3 separate regions of the Homo sapiens genome follow, and regions 1 and 3 are each linked to region 2. Evidence: promoter capture Hi-C in 16 types of primary human blood cells and fetal thymus (Javierre and others, 2016). All regions are on one chromosome and are shown on one strand. Each heading gives the region's core, a stretch centred on a gene start or on the middle of the fragment in contact. The rest is flanking DNA. Distances are from core to core; before and after follow the strand shown. Region 1 has its middle 27 kb from the start of SDHAF1. Region 2 holds the start of UPK1A-AS1 (UPK1A antisense RNA 1). Region 3 holds the start of LINC01531 (long intergenic non-protein coding RNA 1531).

What was found. Contacts are between HindIII fragments. The CHiCAGO score rates a contact against its expected background, and 5 or more counts as called.
Region 1: a fragment that was not itself captured here is called in contact with the fragment with the promoter of UPK1A-AS1 in region 2 in 1 of 17 cell types (M1 macrophages); the score reaches 6.1 in M1 macrophages.
Region 3: the fragment with the promoter of LINC01531 here is called in contact with the fragment with the promoter of UPK1A-AS1 in region 2 in 5 of 17 cell types (monocytes, neutrophils, M0 macrophages and 2 more); the score reaches 9.2 in monocytes.

The regions. Positions count from the first base shown.
Region 1 is chr19:35,966,249-35,971,096 of GRCh38, reverse strand. No RefSeq gene overlaps it. Among named protein-coding and RNA genes, the nearest start is that of SDHAF1, 27 kb to the left of the region's middle. The HindIII fragment of the contact is 2,546 bases long and covers 1,168-3,713 here.
Region 2 is chr19:35,670,093-35,675,001 of GRCh38, reverse strand. UPK1A-AS1 (UPK1A antisense RNA 1) reads left to right here and starts at 1,711. Exons shown (of 2, transcript NR_046420.1): 1 at 1,711-1,767. UPK1A (uroplakin 1A) reads right to left here. Exons shown (of 8, transcript NM_007000.4): 4 at 1,696-1,770; 5 at 1,457-1,564. The HindIII fragment of the contact is 2,419 bases long and covers 449-2,867 here.
Region 3 is chr19:35,403,771-35,408,278 of GRCh38, reverse strand. It overlaps LINC01531 (long intergenic non-protein coding RNA 1531), which reads right to left and starts at 2,672. Exons shown (of 5, transcript NR_040046.1): 1 at 2,598-2,672; 2 at 1-1,694. The HindIII fragment of the contact is 14,783 bases long and covers 871-4,508 here.

The DNA of each region.
Region 1 (4,848 bases), core at 1,191-3,690, 300 kb before region 2:
GTGCACACCTGTAATCCCAGCTACCTGGGAGAGTTGAATCTGGGAGGAGGAGGTTGCAGTGAGTTGAGATGGCGCCACTGTGCTCCAGCCTGGACAAGAGAGTGAGACTCCGTCTCAAAAAAGAAAAAAGAAACAAAACAAAAAACGCTGGTAGAGCCAGCGTCCATACAAAGGCTGGAATGTAACAAAAGCTCACCAAGAGTTTAGGCCAGGCCTTTCCTGGCCCTTGAGGCATGACAAGATCATGAAGGAATTCCTTTATTTTTTGTTTTTTTGAGACAGAGTTTCACTCTTGTTGCCCAGGCTGGAGTGCAATGGCGCGATCTCAGCTCACCACAACCTCCACCTCCCAGGTTCAAGCAATTCTCTTGCCTCAGCTTCCCGAGTAGCTGGGATTACAGGCATGCGCCACCATGCCCAGCTAATTTTGTATTTTTAGTAGAGATGGGATTTCTCTGTGTTGGTCAGGCTGGTCTCGAACTCCCGACCTCAGGTGATCCTCCCGCCTCAGCCTCCCAAAGTGCTGGTATTACAGGCATGAGCCACCATGCCCAGCCTCACGAAGGAATTCTTAACAGTTCCCATTTAAGATTATACAAGCTTTATTGGGGGTCTGAAGGAACTCCCCAGACCTTCACAAACAAGCTTTATTGGAGACTAAAGGAACTCCCCAAGCCTCCATAATTTAGCAGGAGACAAGATAAGGGTAATCACCCCAGCACCTGGACCCATTTAGATGAAGTAAATTTACTCATGTAAGTTTGCATTCATCTAAAGACATAAGTGATTAATTTCTTCTAATATAGCCTAGAATGTATATAAGCTCTGGAAAACGTTATAATTTTGAGTTGATCTGGGGATAATTTCCAGGCCTTCTCCCTGTAATCAGTTACAGAAATAAAAATTCTCTTCTTTCCCAGTTTATTTGTGTCTCATTATTAGGCTGTGAGAATAAGCAGCCCAACCCTCGGTTTGGTCTGGGTACACTAGTACATCATAACCTTCATCAGGTCCCCCCAGCCAGCAACCCGGATTAAACATACTCTAGCCCCCACAACCTTCTAACCAGAGCAGAGCCCCTAAACCTTCCTGGAGGAGAGATTTGGGACATGCTAGTGGCTGCATGTGGTCCTAGGATATGTTCACAGCTCGGGGAATTTGGAAGCTTCATATGCCTGTGTCAGGAAATGATAAACACAGCAAACACCCCCTCATATGACACTTACCATGAGTTGGACTCTGTTCCAAGTGCTTTTCCTGTGTTAACTCATTCTCACCTCACAGGAACCTGCTGAGGGAGGAGCTAGAGAGCCACAATCCCTTATCTACCATCTACAAAAGCAAACAACAACAACAACAACCAAAAGACCTGAAGACTGAATATGTTTTGTGTGTTTGATGTTAAAACTCAATTATCAGCAAAAGCTAACCTGAACTCATGTGTGGCTGCTATAGTCTTAATTTATCCTCCTTTGTGTGACTATTCAGACATTTCACTGCAAAGATATTAATGTTTGTGATTATGTAACACACACTGGGAGTGTTATATAATATGTGGCATTTGCCTGGTTTGACCATTCTAAATTCCAAAATCTGAAATGCACCTGGCCCCAGACATTTTAGATAAGGGACTTTGGACCTGTATAATTGCATCTTTTTTTTTTTTTTTTTTTTTTTTTTTTTTTTTTTGAGACAGACTCTCACTGTGTCCCCCAGGCTGGAGTTCGGTGGCGTGATCTCAGCTCACTACAACTTCTGCCTCCCAGGTTCAAGTGATTCTCCTTCTTTAGCATCCCCAGTAGCTGGGATTACAGGCACCCGCCACCATGCCCAGCTAATTTTTGTGTTTTTAGTAGGGATGGGATTTCACCATGTTGGCCAGGCTGGTCTCGAACTCCTGACCTTAGGTGATCCGCCCACCTTGGCCTCCCAAAGTGCTGGGATTATGGGCATGAGCCACTATGCCCGGTAAACAATTTTTTTTTTCTTTGAGACAGTCTTGCTCTGTCACTCAGGCTGGAGTGCACTGGCACACTCTGCTCACTGCAACCTCTGCCTCTTGGGTTCAAGTGATCCTCCCACCTCAGCCTCCCTAGTAGCTGAAACTACAGGTGAGCGCCACCAGGCCCAGCTAATTTTTGTATTTTTAGTAGAGACGGGGTTTCACCATGTTGGCCAGGCTGGTCTCGAACTCCTGACCTCAGGTGATCCGCCTGCCTCAGCCTCCCAAAGCGCTAGGATTACAGATGTGAGCCACCGCCCCAGCCTATATCATTGCTTCTATTTTAGAGGTGACAAAAATGACCTGCCAGGCATGGTGGCTCACATGCCTGTGATTCTAGTGCTTTGGGAGGCCGAGGACAGAAGATTGCTTGAGGCCAGGAGTTTGAGACCAGCCTGGACAATATAGCGAGACCCTGTCTCTTCAAAACAATTTAAAGAGCCAGGCATGGTAGTGTGTGCCTGTGGTCCTAGCTACTTGGGAGGCTGAGGTGGGAGGATCACTTGAGCCCAGGAGATTGAGGCTACAGTGAGCTATGATGGCACCATTGCACTCCAGCCTGGGTGACTAAACAAGACCCTGTCTCGAAAAAGAAAAAAAGCTCCCAAAATTGATGAACAGAGAAGGATGGGGTCTCCCAAGATCCCATACACTGTGATTCTTATCTGGATAGGGCCACACTTGTGCTTGACAGCAGTGATGGTAATACCAAAGATGCACCCTGTGACAAAGCACATGGGCTGCCTCCCTTCAGGACAGGAGACCCACAGTTAGGAGGCAGGGAGGCTGCTGAGGAGGGACTAGGGGCATCAGCTCAGCATGTAGGTGCAGATCCCAGGCATGGGGAACAAGTGGTCATTGAAAATCTAGATGTATACTGGCCAGGCACGACGGCTCACGTCTGTGATCCCGGCACTTTAGGAGGCTGAGGTGAGCAGATCGCTTGAGGCCAGGAGTTTGGACCAGCCTGGCCAACATGGTGACACCCCGTCTCTAAAAATACAGAAATTAGCCAGGCGTGGTGGTGCACACCTGTAATCCCAGGTACTCGGGAGGTTGAGGCAAGCGAATTGCTTGAGCTTGGGAGACAGAGGCTACAGGGAGCTGAGACTGTGACATTGAACTCCAGTGTGGGTGACGGCAAGACCCTGTCTTTTTTTTTTTTTTTTTTTTTTTTTAGATGGAGTCTTGCTCTGTCGTCCAGGCTGGAAGTGCAGTGGTGCAATCTCGGCTCACTGCAACCTCCACCTCCCGAATTCAAGCAATTCTCTTGCCTCAGCCTCCCAAGTAGCTGGGATTACAGGGACCCGCCACCATGCCTGGCTAATTTTTTTGTATTTTTAGTAGAAACGGGGTTTCACCATTATTGGCCAGCTGGTCTCAAACTGCTAACCTTGTGATCCGCCCATCTCGGCCTCCCAAAGTGCTGGGATTACAGACATGAGCCACTGCGCCAGGCCCGACCCTGTCTTTAAAAAAAAAAAGAAATCAGGCCGGGTGCGGTGGCTCATGCCTGTAATCCCAGCATTTTGGAAGGCTGAGGTGGGCGGATCACCTGAGGTTGGGAGTTCAAGACCAGCCTGTCCAACATGGAGAAACCCCATCTCTACTAAAAATACAAAATTAGCCTGGTGTAATGGCACATGCCTGTAATCCCAGCTACTCAGGAGGCTGAGGCAGGAGAATCGCTTGAAGGTAGAACCTTCAAGCTTGAACCTCTACCCGGGAGGTAGAGGTTGCAATGAGCCGAGATCGTGCCATTGCACTCCAGCCTGGGCAACAAGAGCAAAACTCCTTCTCAAAAAAAAAAAAAAAAGAAAGAAAGAAAGAAAAAAAGTCTAGATGTATGGTAGCCCAGAGGCTCAGGTGGTAGCCCCTGTGATGGCCCCTTGTCCTTTGCTACAGTCAAGTCCTAATTTTGCCACAGCCAGAGTCTTTAAGCTTGGTTTAGTCACTGTCACCACCTTGAGCCCCAGCTTGGCCATGAGACAGTTCTGACCCAGACACAGATACTGTCTTGGTTTTGGACATGGTTGTAGACAATGGTTAGCTATGGGTTTGGTAGGTGGTATAGGTGCTGGTTCAGCTACAGCCAGAGTTGCAGGAAGTGGTTCTTTCACAGTCACAAGTCGAGGCACTGGTGCGGCTGCAGCTACAGGTTCAGGGCAGGGTTCATTTACGGTCACTTGTGCAAGCCCCAGATGAGCCATGGCCACAGGTTCAGGCTCAGGTCCCCCCAGGAGCACAGGCACAAGCCTTGGCTCAGCTTCAGGTGTGTTGTTTGGTCCTGATGCAGCCACTGCCATGGTCTTAGAGCTGAAGATGGACGGTGTTTTGGAGTCCTGCCATCTTGGAACTGGACAAGGTCTCAGACTCACATGTGACCTGAGTGGTGGGCACACATTTAGGCCTTTTTCATTTATTTATTTATTTAGATTTTAAATTACTTTTTTGTTTTTTGTTTTTTTCTTTTTTCTTTTTCTTTTTTATTTTGAGGCAGGGTCTGGCTCTGTTGCCCAGGCTGAGGTGCAGTGGTGCGATCTCAGCTCACTGCAACCTCCACCTCCTGGACTCAAGCCATCTTCCCACCTCAGCCTCCTAAGTAGCTGGGACTACAGGTGCATGCCACCTGGCTAATTTTTGTATTTCTTGTAGAGTCAGGGTTTTGCCATTTTGCCCATGGTGGTCTCCAACTCCTGAGCTTAAGTGATCCACCCATCTCTGCCTTCCAAAGTGCTGGGATTACAAGTGTGAGCCACTGTGCCCAGCCACACACTTAAGTCTGTGCTTCACAAGCTGACATGTGGTCCCATCAGAGCATGTATGGCCCTCACAGGAGACCTGGA
Region 2 (4,909 bases), core at 462-2,961:
GGCGCCATCTTGGCTCACTGCAACCTCCCCCTCCTGGGTTCAAGTGATTCTCCTGCCTCAGCCTCCCAAGTAGCTGGAATCACAGGCGCACACTACTACACCTGACTAATTTTTGTATTTTTTGTAGAGACAGGGTTTCACCATGTTGGCCAGGATGGTCTTGAACCCCTGAACTCAAGTGATCTGCCCGCCTTTGCCTCCCAAAGTGTTGGGATTATAGGTTTGAGCCACTGCACCCAGCCAATTTCTTCCTTTTCCAGTGCAATATCATGTTGGATTTGAGGAAGACTGTATCTCTTCAAACCTGGAAGTCTGAGTTTGAATCCTTCCAGTTCTGTGACCTACCAGGTGTGTGACCTCATGCAAGATATTCAACCTCTTGCTTTGGTCTCCTCATCACTAAAAGGCCGATCTCCCTTATGGAGTGGTCGTGAGGATTAAAAAAGCTTTAAAAGTGCTTTGAAAGGCTGGGCACGGTGGCTCAAGCCTGTAATCCCAGCACTTTGGGAGGCCGAGGCAGGTGGATCACAAGGTCAGGAGATCAAGACCATCCTGGCTAACACCCATCTCTACTAAAAATACAAAAAATCAGCTGGGCGCGGTGGCAGGCGCCTGTAGTCCCAGCTATTCGGGAGGCTGAGGCAGGAGAATAGCGTGAACCCGGGAGGCGGAGCTTGCAGTGAGCCGAGATCGCGCCACTGCATTCCAGCCTGGGCGACAGAGCAAGACTCTGTCTCAAAAAAAAAAAAAAAAAAAAAAAGATAAAAAGAAAAAAAAAAATGTGCTTTGAGGCCAGGCACTCGTGGCTCATGCCTGTGATCTCGGCACTTTGAGAGGCGGAGGTGGGAGAATCGCTCCAATCCTGAGCCCAGGAGTTCCAGACCAGCCTGGGCAATAGAGCAAGACCCCCATCTCCACAAAAGATAATTTAAAAAACTTAGCCGGGTGTGGTGGGGCGCACCTGTATTCCCAGCTACTCGGGAAGCTGAGGCGGGAGGATCACTTGAGCCCAGGAGTTGGAGGTTGCAGTGAGCTATGATCACTCCAGCCTGGGCAACAGAGCAAGACCCCATCTCAAAATATAAAAATAAAAGTCCTTTGAACAGTGTGAAACCTAGCTCAGTGAATGGTGCTGTTACTATCATTGTTATTATCAACATTTCTGTTGAGGTAGTATGTGTAGGCTAAGAGCAGGGAGGTCAGGAGCTAGGCTGCCGGGTTCCAATCCCAGCTCCCACCACTTACCGACTGTGTGGCCTCGGGCAAGGGACTTTCCCTTTCTGGGCCTGTTTACTCATCCGCAGAACGGTGATGACCGCAGCCCTGCTCTCCTAGAGATCTCATGAGCGGATGTCTTTAAGGCACTCACTCCTCTAAAAGCTGGCACATCGGGAGCTCTATCGGCCTCTGTGGACGGAGCCCAGGGCCCTCCCAGCACCCGGTCCACCCCGCCCACCTCAATCATGACGCGGTCCCAGAGGCGGGTCAGCTCCTGGCCCTGGTCGGTGTCCGCGCTGTAGAAGGTCAGCATCTGCTTGGTGATCAGGGATGGGTTGGACACCATCTGAGGAGAACAGGGAAGAACAAGGGCCGGCAGGGCTGGGTGGGGAGAGAGGACGACCTCCGCCCCGCCGCGCCGGGACCCTCGCCCCTCCCATGCAGGTCAGGCCCCTCCCCAGGCCTCGCCGGGCTCACGTAGTCACGGTGGGTGTAGGACGTGATGCAGGAGGCGCACTCGAAGATGTAGACGATGAGCATGAGCACCAGGTACTGGGGAGACAGAGGGAGGACGGCCCGTCGGGCAGAGCCCGTGAAGCCACACCCCGTCAGGGAAGCATCACTGGGGAAATGCAAGTTTTAAAAAAGTTTGGGGCAGTGTGACTAGCAGCATCTATAATATGTGGTGGGTGTTCAGGTGTTCGCTGTATTGTCTTCCAACTTTTCTGTATTTTGAAATATTTAATTTAATTAATTTATTTTTGAGACAGGCGAGGCGTGGTGGCTCACGCCTATAATCCCAGCACTTTGGGAGGCCGAGGGGGCGATCACCTGAGTCAGGAGTTCGAGACCAGCCTGGCCAACATGGTGAAACCCCTTCTCTACTAAAAATACAAAAATTAGGGCTGGGCATTGGTGGCTCACACCTGTAATCCCAGCACTTTGGGAGGCTGAGATGGGAAGATTGCTTGAACCCTGGAGTTCAAGATCAGCCTGGGCAACACAGTGAGACCCCGTCGCTACAAAAAATAAAAATAAAAAAATTAGTTAAGCATAGTTACTACTAGTGGTAGTGTTAGTCCTAGCTATTTGGGAGGCTGAGGTTGGAGGATCGTTTGAGCCCAGTAGTTGGAGGCCTCAGCGAGCTATGATCGCACCACTGCATTCCTGCCTGGGCAACAGAGCAAAACCCTGTCTCTTAAAACAAAACAAACAAGGGTGGGTGCAGTGGCTTACGCCTGTAATCCCAACACTTTGGGAGGTTGAGACGGGTGGATCACCTGAGGTCAGGAGTTCAAGACCAGCCTGACCAATATGGTGAAACCCCATCTACTAAAAATGCAAAAATACAAAAATTAGCTGGGCATGGTGATGGGTGCCTGTAATCCCAGCTACTCAGGAGGATGAGATAGGAGAATAGCTTGAACCCAGGAGGCAGAGGTTGCAATGAGCCGAGATTGTGCCATTACACTCCAGCCTGGGCAACAGAGTGAGACCCTGTCTCTTAAAATAAAACAAACAACATAAAACGATGTTCTCAGATAATCAGAGACATTTGACACAGACTGGGTATTGGAAGATATAGAAGAACTTGATTGAATTTGGTGGGTTGTGCCAACGGCACAGAGGGCAGGAGAAAAAAAAAAGCTTGTCAGTTGATGTTTAATGCAAATTCTTTTCATGTCCTCACCTGGCACCTTCATCTATAAAGCAGCAGGAGGTTGCGTGTGGATGTGTGAACTCTGCTGCTGGGAGATGGATGACATTGCACAACCTCCTGACTGCTTTAAAACAATGTGCTTATCACTCAGAGAAATGTGTGCTCCAGTATTTACAGGCAAGTGACTTGGCATCTAGAATGTGCTTCAAAATACCCAGAAGAAAAAGTATGAGAGAAGGGGGATAGAGGAGACAATGTCGGGCAGTCTGCAGCTGATGTTGTTGAAATCAGGTGAGAGGTATGCAGGGCTCAAATACTGCGGACTCTAGTCTACTTTAGAAATTTCCTGTAAGAAATTTGGGGGCCGGGCACGGTGGCTCATGCCTGTAATCTCAGCACTTTGGGAAGCCGAGGTGGGCGGATCACGAGGTCAGGAGATCGAGACCATCCTGGCTAACACGGCGAAACCCCATCTCTACTAAAAATACAAAAAAAAAAATTAACCAGGCGTGGTGGCAGGTGCCTGTAGTCCCAGCTACTCGGGAGGCTGAGGCAGGAGAATGGCGTGAACCCGGGAGGCGGAGCTTGCAGTGAGCCGAGATCGCACCACTGCACTCCAGCCTGGGCAACTGAGCAAGACTCCGTCTCAAAAAAAAAAAAAAAAAGAAATTTGGGGAGAAAATGTCTTAGTTAATGACAAACTAATGGGGAAACAGACACAATTTTTTTTTTTTTTTGAGACAGAGTCTTGCTCTGTCGCCCAGGCTGGAGTGCAGTGGCGCGATCTCTGCTCACTGCAAGCTGCGCCTCCCGGGTTCACGCCATTCTCCTGCCTCAGCCTCCCGAGTAGCTGGGACTACAGGCGCCCGCCACCACGCCTGGTTAATTTTTTGTTTTTTAGTAAAGACGGGATTTCACCGTGTTAGCCAGGAAGGTCTCGATCTCCTGACCTTGTGATCCACCTGCCTCGGCCTCCCAAACTGCTGGGATTACAGGCGTGAGCCACCGAGCCCGGCCCAGACACAATTTTTAAAACTAGTTGGGTGACTTTTTAGGGCTTTGGTTAAATTGTTATGCCAGATAATTAAATACAGGATAAGAAAATAAGAGGGCAGGTGTGGTGGCTCATGCCTGTAATTCCAACACTTTGGGAGGCTGAGGTGGGAGGCTCACTTGAGGCCAGGAGTTGGAGACCAGCCTGGGCACCATAGTGAGACTCCATCTCTACAAAAAATACAAAAATTAGCTGCACATGGTGATGCACACTTGTAGTCCCAGCTCATTGGGAGGCTGAGGTGGGAGGATCATTTGAGATGAAGAGTTCGAGGTGGCAATGAGCTATGATTGTGCCACTGCACTCCAAACTGGGCAACAGAGTGAGACCCTGTCTAGAGAAACAAAGAAAGGAAGGAAGGAAGGAAGGGAGGGAGGGAGGGAGGGAGGGAGGGAAAGAAGGAAGGGAAGGAAGTCCATGGCTCCATCGTACCCAGGATAAAGCCAAAGTCCACAATACCTGCCTGTCTAGAAAAATGAAGGAAGGAAGGAGGGAGGTGGGGAGGGGAGAGGAGGGGAGGGGAGGGGAAAGGAGGGGAGGGGAGGGGAGAGGAGGCGAGGGGAGGGGAGGGGAGGGGAGGAGTCCATGGCTCCATCTTACTCAGGATAAAGCCAAAGTCCACAACACCTGCCTGTGTAGAAAAACGAAGGAAGGAAGGAAGGAGAGGGGAGGGGAGGGAAGGGGAGGGGAAGGGAGGGGAGGGGAGCAGGGGGTCTATGGGTCCATCTTACTCAGGATAAAGCCAAAGTCCACAACACCTGCCTTCCCTCCTGCTTCTTTCCCATCCCCATTCCTCACTGTTCTCCTCCCCATCTGTCTGCCTCATGTCCTCTCACCCCCCAACCTCCTCCTCACTCAGCTCCAGCTGCTTTGGACTCCTGGCCCGCTCTGGCCTCAGAGCCTTTGCCCTTGCTGCCACCTCCACCTGGAAGGCTCTTCCTCCAGTTACACACCTGCCTCGCTCCCAGTGCCTCTAG
Region 3 (4,508 bases), core at 1,423-3,922, 270 kb after region 2:
AAAAATACAAAAATTAGCCGGGTGTGGTGGTGGGTGCCTGTAATCCCAGCTACCCGGGAGGCTGAGGCAGGAGAACCCAGGAGGCGGAGGTTGCAGTGAGCCAAGATCATCACACCACTGCACTCCAGCCTGGGTGACAGAGCAAGACTCCATCTCAAAAACAAAACAAAACAAAATAAAAACAAAAACAAAGAAAATCAAGGGGTCAATGCAGCATCGAGAGCACTGAACAACACTGCGCCTGCCCACCAATTTGACTCTTCCACTGGGGGAACCCACCATGGGAGACAAAGCACAGGGTCCAAGCAGACCAGGAAGTTGAAGAGGGTCACGGCAGCCAGTCTCTTGGCTCTTCAGCACCTCCAGGTCCCCACTTGGGGCCAGAGAGCATGATCTGCACAAAGTGCCAGTGGCAGAAGGTGGTGACCGCCATGGGGGTGAAGAAGAGCTCCAAGCACAGCTCCAGCTGCAGCACCACGGCCAGCTGCTCTTGGGGGACGTTCTCATAGCAGATACGGAGCCCTCTGGCATATCTCATCATCTTCTTGGTAAAAACTAGACAATGAGCCAGGCATGGTGGCTCATGCCTCCCAGCACTTTGGGAGGCTGAGGCAGGCAGATCACTTTAGGTCAGGAGTTCGAGACCAACCTGGCTAACATGGTGAAACCCCGACTCTACTAAAAATACAAAAATTAGTAGGGAGTGGTGGCACATGCCTGTAGTCTCAGCTACTCGGGAGGCTGAGGTAGGAGAATCACTTGAACCTGGGAAGCAGAGGTTGCAGTGAGCCAAGATAGCACCACTGCACTCCAGCCTGGACGACACAGCAAGACTCCATCTCAAGAAAAAAAAAAAAGAAAGAGTAAGCTTAAATCTCCTCGAAGTGATCATTGAAAGGTAAACATTTAAAATAAAACTTGTGGCTGGGAGCAGTGGCTCACACCTGTAATCCCAACACTTTGGGAAGCCAAGACAGGAGGATTGCTTGAGTCAAGGAGTTCAAGACCAGCCTGGGCAACACAGTGAGAGCCTTTCTCTACAAAACGTTAAGAAATTAGCTGGGCATGGCGGTGTGCACCTGTAGTCCTCGTTACTCTGGAGGCTGAGGCAGGAGGATCACTTGAGCCCAGGGGCTTCAAGGTTACAGTGAACCATGGTGGCACCACTGCAAACCAGCCTGGGCGACAGAACAAGACCCTGTCTCAAAAAAAAAAAAGTTTAAAAATGAATAAAATAATGAGGCCTTAACCTATGACAGATAGCATATCACCTGCTGGCCCATCTGTACATCTCATTCTGCATTCGAGAACTTCAGAAGTAGAGGACCAGATGAATGGGAGTGGCCCTGCCGCCACGGGGCTGAGCTCCACCGCTTTTGTCCTGCTCCTCCTCGCCAGGCCCTGACCATCTCTCCACTGACTTGTCCTGGCCCCTTTTCCATTTCTGTGGCCTCTTCCCTCTCCTCCTTGGAGAGTAGCCTGTCCTCTGCTCCCTGCATGCTCTCCTTCCATCCCGTCTCTTCCTGGGGTTATGATCCCAGCAACCTCTTCCCTGAGCCCAGGCGAGGTCAGGTCCCTTGCCTTTTCCTGCAGGTAGATGGGTGGGTTTTCAAAGATGTCTGGTTTCAGAAGCCGGTGGCATCTTGTCTAACTGGACCACCTTTTCCTTTTCCACCAACGGCAGGCTTTTATACCTGGAAGAGTCATGTGGTCAAAAAGAGGAAAGTCAGTGGTTGAGCTCTTTCTAAAGCAGCTTGACCTTCTGGGTCTCCCACCAGATTTTGTCCCCAACAGACTTATTTCACCCAGAGTCCAATTTTTTTTTTTTTGAGGCAGAGTCTTGCTCTATCACCCAGGCTGGAGTTTAGTGGTGCGATCTCAGCTCACTGCAACCTCTGCCTCCCTAGTTCAAGTGATTCTCCTACCCCAGCCTTCCAAGTAGTGGGATTACAGGTGTGCAACACCACGCCCGACTAATTTTTGTATTTTTTGTAGACAGGGTTTCACCATGTTGGCCAGGCTAGTCTCGAACTCCGAACCTCAAGTGATCCGCCTGCCTTGCCTCCCAAAGTGCTGGGATTACAGGCGTGAGCCACTGTGCTCAGCCCAGAATCCAAATTTGAACAGTTTTTTCAGGCTTCCTCCTCCCCCTACATTCCAAGAGGTTGAATTCTGTTTCCTTCCCATGGGCAATTATCCCACACGACTACACGCACATCCATCTCTCACTTCCGCTTTTTCTTTCTTTCTTTCTTATTTTGTTGTTGTTGTTTTGAGACAGGGTCCCACTCTGTTGCCCAGGCTAGAGTTCAGTGGTGCAATCGCGGCCCACTGCAGCCTTCACCTTTCGGGCTCAAGTGATCCTCACACCTCAGCCTCCCGAGAAGCTGGGCCACAGGTGCACGCCACTGCATCTGGCTAATTTTTTGTATTTTTGGCAGAGACGGGGTTTCACCATGTTACCAAGAGTTGTCGAACTCTTGAGCTCAGGCAGTCCACCCGCTTTGGCCTCCCAAAGTGCTAGGATTACAAGTGTGAGCCACCATGCCCAGCCCCAAGTTTGTTTTTAGAAAAAAAAACCTAGCATTGTCCCTTGCCTATAACAGACACTCAAATCCTTGTGGAATGTAAGGATGGAGGTTGGATGTGCCTGTGAATACTTGCTAGCTGATGACACAAGCAAAGAATGTGTCAGAACCTGCGCCTTTTGTCTCCTGTCCTTTATCTGCATTCTGTTGCCCGGGTTACTGGTATGGGGACATCTTTGGTGCTGAGGTCTAGGTTCCAATGAGTCAAAGGGAGAATTCAAACTAAGTTGTCTGGCAGCACCCCAAGACTGTGCTGACCTCACACACAGCTGTATCACGGGAGTGGGCAGTGCATCATCTCAAATCCAACTCAACTGAGCAATGGTTCGGGCTGAGTCACACCATGTATGAATCGGGGGGCGGGGGTATGTGGCTCCTCTCCAACAAGCCACACTGTCTGCTTCCCTGTCACAAAACACATGGAGCCGTTACTCTGTGTGAGGTACTGTTCTAGGAGCTGGAGACAAGAGTGAACAGGATGAACAGAAAACAAGTAGACAAACCAACAAGGCAATTTTACAGGAAGAAAGGAAGTAGGCCAGGCAAGGTGGCTCACGTCTGTGATCTCAACGCTTTGGGAGGCCCAGGCAGGAGGACTGCTTGAGGCCAGGAGTTCAAAACCAGCCTGGTCAACATAGCGATACCCCGTCTCTACAAAAAGTGAGATAAAAAGTCAGGCATGGTGGCTCACACCTATAATCCCAGCTACTTAGGAGGCTGAGGCAGGAGGAGGATTGCTTAAGGCTGGGTGTTTGAGACCAGCCTGGGCAACATAGTGAGATCCCCTGTCTCTACAAAAAAGGATAAAAATAAAAAATTAGCCAGGCATGGTGGTGCACACCTGTAGTCCTAGATACTCAGGAGGCTGAGGCGGGAGGATCACTTGAGCCTAGGAGTTGGAAATTAAAATGAACTATGATGGCACCACTCCAATCCAGTGGTCCTGTCTGGGGGAAAAAAAAGGGAAAGAAAATAAATCGGCTAGGCGTGGTGGGGTTCATGCCTGTAACCCCAGCACTTTGGGAAGCTGAGGCGGGCACATCACTTGAGGTCAGGAGTTTGAGACCAGCCTGGCCAACATGGTGAAACTCTGTCTCTACTAAAAATACAAAAATTAGCCAGGTATGGTGGCGGGCACTGGTAATCCCAGCTACTCAGGAGACTGGGGCAGGAGAATCACCTTAACCTGGGAGGCAGAGATTGCAGTCAGCCGAGATCATGCCACTGCACTCCAGCCTGGGCGACAGAGGAAGACTCTGCCTCAAAAAAAAAAAAAAAAAAGGACCAAAAATCAAACAACAACAACAACAACAACAAAAAGCAAGCAGGGAAATTGAGAGAGAGAGAGAGAGAGATGGGCAGGGCCTGTCAGGAAAGGCCTGGGACATTTGAATGGGTGAGAAGGAGCCACTATCTGAAGAGCGTTCCAGGTAGGGGCACCAGCGGGAACTTAGCCTGAACCATGGCTCGGTTGAGTTGGACTTGAGATGTCGCACCGCCCACTCCCATGATGCAGCTGTACGTGAGGTCAACACAGCCTTGGGATGCTGCAAAACAGCTTAGTCTGAATTCTCCTTTTTTTTTTTTTTTTGAGACAGAGTCTCACTCTGTTGCCCAGGCTGGAGTGCAGAGGCGATCTCGGCTCACTGCAACCTCCATTCTCCTGGGTTCACGCCATTCTCCTGACTCAGCCTCCTGAGTAGCTGGGATTACAGGCACTCACCACCACACCTGGCTAATTTTTGTATTTTTAGTAGAGATGAGGTTTCACCATATTGGTCAGGCTGGTCTCGAACTCCTGAGCTCAGGTGATCAACCCACCTTGGCCTCCCAAAGTGTTGGAATTACAGGCGTGAGCCACTGTGCCCGGCCTGAATTCTCCCTTTGACCTCATGGAACCTAGGCCTCAGCACCAAGGAT